3 separate regions of the Homo sapiens genome follow, and regions 2 and 3 are each linked to region 1. Evidence: promoter capture Hi-C in 16 types of primary human blood cells and fetal thymus (Javierre and others, 2016). All regions are on one chromosome and are shown on one strand. The core of a region is centred on a gene start or on the middle of the fragment in contact, and the rest is flanking DNA. Distances in the headings are between cores, read along the strand shown.

Region 1 (2,592 bases), core at 28-2,527:
CCAGCTATTCAAGAGGCCAAGGCTGCAATGAGCTATGATTGTGCCACTGCTCTCTAGCCTGGGGGACGGAGAGACCCTGCTTCTAAAAAAAAAAAAAAATTTTAAGTTAAACATACCCAGAATGACCCAGAAATTCCACTCCTGTATTTCCTCAAGATAAATAAAATATGCCCACAAGGACTTGTACGAGAATGGTTATAGCAACTTTGCTCATCATCACCAAAAATTGAAAGCAATACAAATCCATCAACTGGTGAATGCATAAAGTATTCAATGGAATGCCTCTCAATAACAAACACTACTAACTTCTGGTTCACGCAGACCCAAAAGAGTACCTATCACCTTCATTTTTATAGTGCTAGAAATAAGAGGAGTGGTTGCTGATGTGGTGGGAGATGGACAGGAAAGAAACAGGCCACTCTTCTGAGTGATGGAAATGCTCTACGTCCTGATTGGGTGGTAGTTACACAGCTGTTTACATTTACCAAACTCATCAAATTGTCCACTGGGGGGGAAAAACTATTATTTTCACTGTATACGAAAACTTCGCCTCAACAAAAAATGAACTAAAAAAGAAAAAAAAGGGGAGGGGGGCTGGCGACGTTGAAAAGTAACGCTAAACTATGTAAGGATTTGATAATTGGGGTAAGCCTTTTCTTTAAAACGTCTAGTAAAGAAAACATTCCAAGAAGGTCTGCTAGATTCTGTGACTAAACAAGGACATTAAAAAGCCCTGAATCCAGCTTGGTCAACGTAGTGAGGCCCTGTCTCTACGGAATTTTTTTAAAGTTAGCCAGGCGTAGTGGTGCGCGCCTATAGTCCCAGCTACTCGGGAGGCTGAGGTGGGAGGATGGTTTGAACACAGCAGCTCAAGGCTGCAGTGAGCAGTGGTCGGTGCCCACTATACTCCAGCCTAAGGGACAGAGACCTTGTCTCAAAAAAAAGAAAAAAGAAAAAAAAAAAAAGCCTTGCGAGCTCTGGGGGAGATTTCCCGCAGCCCAGCTTTGCCAGGGACCCAGCCTCACCCCTCGGGCTCCACCGCCCACTCCCGCCCTTCACCTGACGTGAGCGCCCCGACTGCTCCACTCCTTCTCATCCCGCGTCGCGGTCCCGCCTATTTTCCCTCTCTCACCCATCTTTTGAACTGGCCCTTCACCTTTCAATCAATTCAAATATCGCACGGAGCAAACCAATCGCAAGCCTCGTTGAGTGGAAGGGGTGGGATCTTCCCCGGAAGTGTTGGTTAAAGCCCCTCCAATCAGCGGCTCGGTGCGGCAAGTTTGAATTTCGTGGAGGCTCGGGTTGTGAGGGTTCCTGCTTCGGAGTCGGCGGTGGTCGTCCAGACCGAGTGTTCTTTACTTTTTGTTTGGTTGAGGTTTCACGCTAGAAGGTGGCTCAGGTAGGTGGGTGCTGGAGAGCTGGACGGAGAACACTGGCCCGCTTCCGTTGAAGGTCTAGAAGGGTCTGAGGACCGGGGGCTGCGAGCGGGAGCAAGTCAGAGGCAGGCTCCTTTAGGACCGTGTTACCTGCCCTTCCCGAAGCTGATAATGCGAGCCTTTAGAAGAGTCCATATGTTTGCCCTGACCTCTGTAATAGTCAGCGTTTCACCACCGGGGCGTAATTGACCTTTGGGGTGAAACTGTTCTTCACTAGCTCCGACATTAAATTCCCGTAGCTCTTCCCAGGTCCCATGGCAACTAAAAACGCCCGGTTGAGAACCTCTAGTCAAGCAAGATTAACGCATTCTGGACTTTCAAGCTGGAGGAAACGCCACTCAGCCAAACAAAATTTAGGTGTGTGTGGAGCCAGGGCTGCCTTGCTTGGGATCCCAGCTTCACCACCTTTTAGATATGCTAATGTGAGCAGTTAATTGACCTCATCTGTATGAGAGCGATAATAGTTAACTACCTTTCAGGGTTATTCTGATAATTGTACCTTTAATGTTGTCCTCGCTCGCTCTTTCTCTTGCTGTGGATAGTGCTATCCTGTATTTAATACATAAGTCTTAATTTTTCTTCAATCTTTAGCGAATTAATATTGCAGGAGATAAATAGTAGAAGACAGTTCTTTATGAAAAGCACAGTCCATTGTCACTTTCCTTGGGTCTTAGAGGAGAATGTTATTAGCATGCAGGTCAGACAGATTCTCGTTTTTTATATTTTGTTGATTGCTTAGAATCATGTAACAATGTATTGCATTACTTGTGCCAATTTTTCTATTATCTGGAGTTTTCTAGTGGATTTAGTTAATTCTTGTTGAAGAATATACCATAGTGTGTCTATCACAGAGCCTCCCCCTTACCTTTTTTTGTTTTTGTTTTTTAACTGCCAAGACTTCTGAGAATCAGTATCCTTTCTCCAGTTTGGCTTGGTAGTTCTCTATACCAGCTACACAGGTGACCCCCTCAAACTTTCTAATTTTCTTTGTTCTCCCTAGTTGGATCTACTGACGTCGTCTTTATTGTCCTCTTTTGTTTTGCTTGAATACATTCTCAAAGATCTTTCCAAGAAAAAGGCATGTGCCAATTAAACTATATGATTTTGTGCGTGTGTGTGTGTGTGTGTGTGTGTGTATGGCTTTTCTTTTTTAAAA
Region 2 (2,592 bases), core at 36-2,535, 240 kb before region 1:
CTGAATGCGATGACAACTAATTTCAGGATAATAGTAGGGAAGAGAATTTCAGATTTCATAATTCTTTGTTTTATCAGTTCTAAATGGATTGTGGCTTTAGACAGTTTGATTATCTGTAAGGCAAAGCACTAATTCTTGACCTCTAAGGTGGGCGGAGGGGACTTAAAGATTAATAGATGCATTCTTGAAGGATTGTATTGTTTATACTACAGCACTGTAGTTGCTGAAAATTGTGGGTAGGGTTGGATAAACACCAAGGATATAAAGATGTAAAATTGAGTTTGATTTGCAAATTGATTCAGAATTGTAATTTCTATTTTGAGGCATTGTTTTGAAAAAAGATCTAAAACTTAATTTTAGCAGCTAGTCATGAAATTTTAGGAAAGGCTCTTTAGCACTTCACTTTGGGATTTTACACTTAACTAGGAATCATGTCATGTATTTCACATTTGGAATAATTCTCCCCCTAGGAAATTGCTAAGGTATAACCTAAGAAATGAGAAAATAAGTTGTCTTTTTTTTTTTTTACTCTTTATATCTGATATAAGTTTCTAAACTGACTTATTTCTTCAGGAATATAGTTTCCACTGTAAACCTGGCCTGTAAGTTGGATCTGAAGAAAATAGCTTTGCATGCAAAAAATGCAGAATATAACCCAAAGGTAACATTTCTCAGTATTCCTTCCAATAATTAGCTTCTCTTTAGATTTACTTTTCTTAATATGATCATGATATTGACTAATTCCTCTGTTTTTTCTTAAAAAATTGTTACTGAAAAAGCTTTTGGCAACTCAGGGTTAATATCTGTTTTGAGTTATAAAAAATAATCTCATTCTTTATGCTGAATAAAGCAGTAATTGAGCAGTTCCTTAAAGATAAGCTCTCTCCCTTGTCATTCAAAAATATTTTTTAGTATGATTATAATTTTTCACTTAGGCTGGGCACGGTGGCTCACTCCTGTAATCCCAGCACTTTGGGAGGCTGAGGCAGGTGGATCACGAGGTCAGGAGTTTGAGACCAGCCTGACCAACATGGTGAAATCCCGTCTCTACTAAAAATACAAAAATTAGCTGGATGTTGTGGCGGGTGCCTGTAATCCCAGCTACTCAGGAGGTTGAGGCAGGAGAATCACTTGAACCCAGGAGGCAGAGGTTGCAGTGAGCCAAGATCATGCCATTACATTCCAGCCTGGGTAACAGCGAGACTCCGTCTCCAAAAAAAAAAAAAAAATTTCACCTGACTATTGGGATGCTAACTATCTTAAAATGCCATCAAATTTCTGGAAATAATTTTTGCCAAATGTTGTCTCAGCTACCTGACACTTATGTATCTTTCCATTACAATTCCTCTTATCTGAGAAGGCTAAACTGCTTAAAGTATAAAGTTCAAGCTCCTATTTACTAATGTAAGATTCAGGGATTTTTTTTTTCGTCCTCCTCAAAGTTTAATAAAATCTATTCTTTCTTGTATCCTGCCAAGGCCAGGCATCCTGTTTTCAATGGCTTGTTTACCTAGGGTAATTGGGTTTGTCAATCCTATCAACTTTTAACGATTTGCCAGGCTCTGTACTTAGGAGTACAAAGATGAGTAAGACCTGCTTCCTACTGGGAAAAAGTTCACTGGCTTAGGTGGTGGAGGATTTATGGAATTAGATGAAAAAAGGTCACATTCGTAGGAACCCAGAGACCTTGCAGGCATCAACTATTATTTGTTTTTGCTGTTGCCCTAGTATTGTTGCTGACATCTGAATTTAAATGTTACCTCGATGTTACCCGAATACAATAAAGCTTTCCTTTTGATATTTCATACAGCTGACAATGGTGAGGACAGACACAAAGATGAGCTAAGATCCTCACAGCTGCAGCTGTGATCACATTATTGAACAATCAGCATTTTAGGCAACTTTTATTGTCCACCATCCTCAGCACACCTCTCATTTTGGACGAGGGGTAGGGGTGGGCAGGGCTGGGGATGAGTGTATAGGATCTCTCTGAACTTGTGCTTGACACCCAGAGAAATTCTGGCTTGGCCCTTAAGCTAGCACCCACCCCAGTTTCCTTCCTAGCTTAACCGGGGAGAGGAGTTGGGGTGAAGAGACTATCTGTGTAGGAGCAGGCCATTTGATGACACGTCCATGTGGCAGGCCAGAGGTTCCCTACCCTCACGAGTGTCAGCCTCACCTGCAGGGCTTGCTGATGCTGCTGGTCTTGAATGACACTTTGAGAACTATAAGAGGCAAGAACCTTGACATCAACTTTCTGTCATTCATCTTTAGCATGCCTATCATACAGACTCTTCTGCATTTTGGTCATTTTTCAGTACATTCTGAAGTCTTGGTGAGCCTTTAACATACTTATTTTTTTCCCAAAAGATTCTTCAAAAGAAAAAGGAAGTGTGTCAAAGTAAAAAGCAGAGAATCTGATTAGTGTGGGTTTTGAATCTTAACTTTACCACTTCCTGTGTAATATTGGAGGTTATATTGCTACTTGTTTTCCCTGAGCACTAAATGAGGATAATAAACACAAGTTCATCCTATCATGAGAATAAATAGGAACTGAAACATAACAGGCATTCAAATTTAAGAGTTACTGAT
Region 3 (2,592 bases), core at 59-2,558, 140 kb after region 1:
AAAAATTAGCTGGGCGTGGTGGCACACGCCTGTCATCTCAGCTACTTGGGAGCTGAGGTAGGAGAATTGCTGGAACCTGGAAGGCAGAGGTTGCAGTGAACCGAGATTGCGCCATTGCACTCCAGCCTGGGCTGACAACAGCGAGACTCTGTCTCAAAAAAAAAGAGATCTCAAGGTTTTTGTTTCATAGGAAGGAAGCTCTCTATTGCGTGGATCTATAAAATGATCCAAACTTCAGAGACAGGAAGCTGATAACTGGATTTATCTTCTTAATGGCTTTGGCTCATGAATAAATGATAATGGTTTATGTGTTTTTCTTATAAAAAGAAATGGAATTTGTATACCGATAGGAGTCCTACTTGCCACATTTGTTCTACTTATTAAGGGATTTCTAATTACTGAGACATTCTTTATATTATTTATAATAAGAAGTCAAAACTTTAACTGAAAGCCATTCTTTGACCACAGTTGGCCATTAGCTGAAATTCAGGAAATAGCACAGGTTTGATCACCAAATCAATAAATCTAGCCACAGGCTGACTAAAAGCTTCCTTTAATCTTCTTCCTATTAGGTCTTCCTTTAAATTAAACCATTCCCTTCATGAATTATTTAAGTGAATGGCATGGTTATAGAAAGATCACATATAACTCTATACAAAAATGCTAAAGGAACCTTAAAAAGTCCATTCAGCATACTTCAGGAATTATACTATGAATCAAGATGCTGTAGGCTTAGAAAAAAATGGGAGTGGGAGTATGTCCTGTAAAGCTTCAGAGAAAAATAGAAAAGTCAAGTTTATTTCCTGATTAGCCCAGGATGATTCCCAAAGCGCAGTTAAGTGTCTGGTCCAGACTAGCTATTAGCGATTAAGTAGTTTCTTTTCACTGTCAAGGCTTTTCCCTGAGGTAATGCCTAAATTCCTAATTTTAATATTTGATCTTATTTCTCTTAGCTCCATCCTCTCTCACCAATAAGCTCTCCACATTTCCACCATGCTAAATGCTTTCTCAACTCTGGAATTTACACTGTTCAAATCTTCCCTTTGTTCAACAGTTATAAAATTTTAGACAAATTTATACATTCCCACATTGTTCCTCTCAAAATTTACTCATTTATATAGTGCAATCAATATATTGTTTACATTTTATATAGGTTAGTTTCTGAATACTGTATGTTCTTCCAAATGTATCCTTACAAAGACACAGAGGAAGGGGGTAACCTTTCTGAATTCCAATTCCTTAATGTTTTAAAAAAAATTATTACTCTTTTCTTTTCCCTTAAACAATTCCCTTCTCAAGTCTTTATGTATCTACTTTCCAAACTTCTTTTCACTGTAGCAAATACCAAAGGAAAAATAAAAATCATTTCAGAGTCAATGAATCTCCTCCCTGCTCTCATTTATTAGATCAACTACTTCAAGGCTACATATGTGGCAGTACTTTTTAAGTGTTAACAGCTGTTAATACCTTGAAGTTGAAAAAATAAAAAAGCCAGAGAAAACATATCACAAGCAATCAGTTTGAATTATATGAAAAGGTACTTAGATCTTGACTTTCATATAAATACTAATTTTAACACTATAAAAGACAACATAACTATATATCATTTTTCTTTATAAAACTACCCCTTAACAGAATATTTGTAAGCTAGTCATCCCTTAGGTTTTTCTGTACTGATAAAAAGTTATTTTTAAAAGAAAAATATTTAAAATAATTGTTTCACAGAAACAGAAAATCTTATCAAATTCTGATAAAAAACTATAATCATGGGTACTCTTACCACACTATTTTCTTTCACCAAAGATGGATATTTAGGAAGTGGTATATTGGTTAATAAGATAAGCTTCTCAGTGATCTACAAAAGCGCCACAATAAAGATGAGGTAGTATGAGACTTTTCTAACCTTGTAAAAGGTAAATATCGTCTTTAGAAGAGATATTTATCCTGACATTGGTGTTATGATATCCGATATCCTGAGCCTCATCACTGCTAAGAGGTGCCATTTTTGTAGCTACATCTCATTGAGACTAAGACAATCTTGAGATCACTGAGGAAAAAAAAAATGCTAAAAGATAACGGTAATAGAGATTTTCCTTAATTTTGTAATAATTACTAAAAAATTATTTTAAAGCTATTATGGAAAAATGCCATTTTCATGTTAACAGAACTGCAAGATAGGGAAATGCTACTCACATAAAAGCAACAATAATGAAGAAATATTTGTTCTAACTTGGAAGTTTATGAGTCAAATTTCTTTCAATCTAGGTAGAAGCAGTTTCCTAATATAGCTAAACTAGCATCAAGAAATCAGTTACGATATTAAAAATGTCAATGTGTACAAAGGGTTAGACAGCTCACCAGAAGAAAATTGTCTATCTACATTTATTATTCATTGATTCCTTAAAAAAAGAAGATAGGATACCACTCCATTTATTTTTACTAGTTACTTTGGGCTAAAGATGTTTCTAAAAACGTTGCCCTGTTTCTGGGATAGTAAATTTAAAATATCACCCCTTTTGTCCAGTACTGTTCTGTATGGTGTAAGTCATGTAGCTGTCAAAAGGCTTTCTTTTTTTGAAGCCACATTACAGA

The links. Contacts are between HindIII fragments. The CHiCAGO score rates a contact against its expected background, and 5 or more counts as called.
Region 2: a contact is called between a fragment that was not itself captured here and the fragment with the promoter of DLGAP5 in region 1, in 1 of 17 cell types (activated CD4 T cells). The highest score is 5.8, in activated CD4 T cells.
Region 3: a fragment that was not itself captured here is called in contact with the fragment with the promoter of DLGAP5 in region 1 in 1 of 17 cell types (monocytes); the score reaches 5.1 in monocytes.

Annotation. Positions count from the first base shown.
Region 1 is chr14:55,190,270-55,192,861 of GRCh38, reverse strand. DLGAP5 (DLG associated protein 5) reads left to right here and starts at 1,277. Exons shown (of 19, transcript NM_014750.5): 1 at 1,277-1,399. LOC105370508 (a long non-coding RNA gene) reads right to left here and starts at 1,189. Exons shown (of 2, transcript XR_943888.3): 1 at 1,060-1,189. RefSeq lists enhancers at 981-1,533, 1,534-2,087. The HindIII fragment of the contact is 13,519 bases long and covers 1-2,592 here.
Region 2 is chr14:55,433,916-55,436,507 of GRCh38, reverse strand. TBPL2 (TATA-box binding protein like 2) reads left to right here. Exons shown (of 7, transcript NM_199047.3): 3 at 574-661. It also overlaps a transcript of FBXO34 not described here. Among named protein-coding and RNA genes, the nearest start is that of TBPL2, 5.4 kb to the left of the region's middle. The HindIII fragment of the contact is 1,007 bases long and covers 782-1,788 here.
Region 3 is chr14:55,045,501-55,048,092 of GRCh38, reverse strand. It overlaps SOCS4 (suppressor of cytokine signaling 4), which reads right to left. Exons shown (of 3, transcript NM_199421.2): 3 at 1-2,592. Among named protein-coding and RNA genes, the nearest start is that of MAPK1IP1L, 4.8 kb to the left of the region's middle. The HindIII fragment of the contact is 1,074 bases long and covers 772-1,845 here.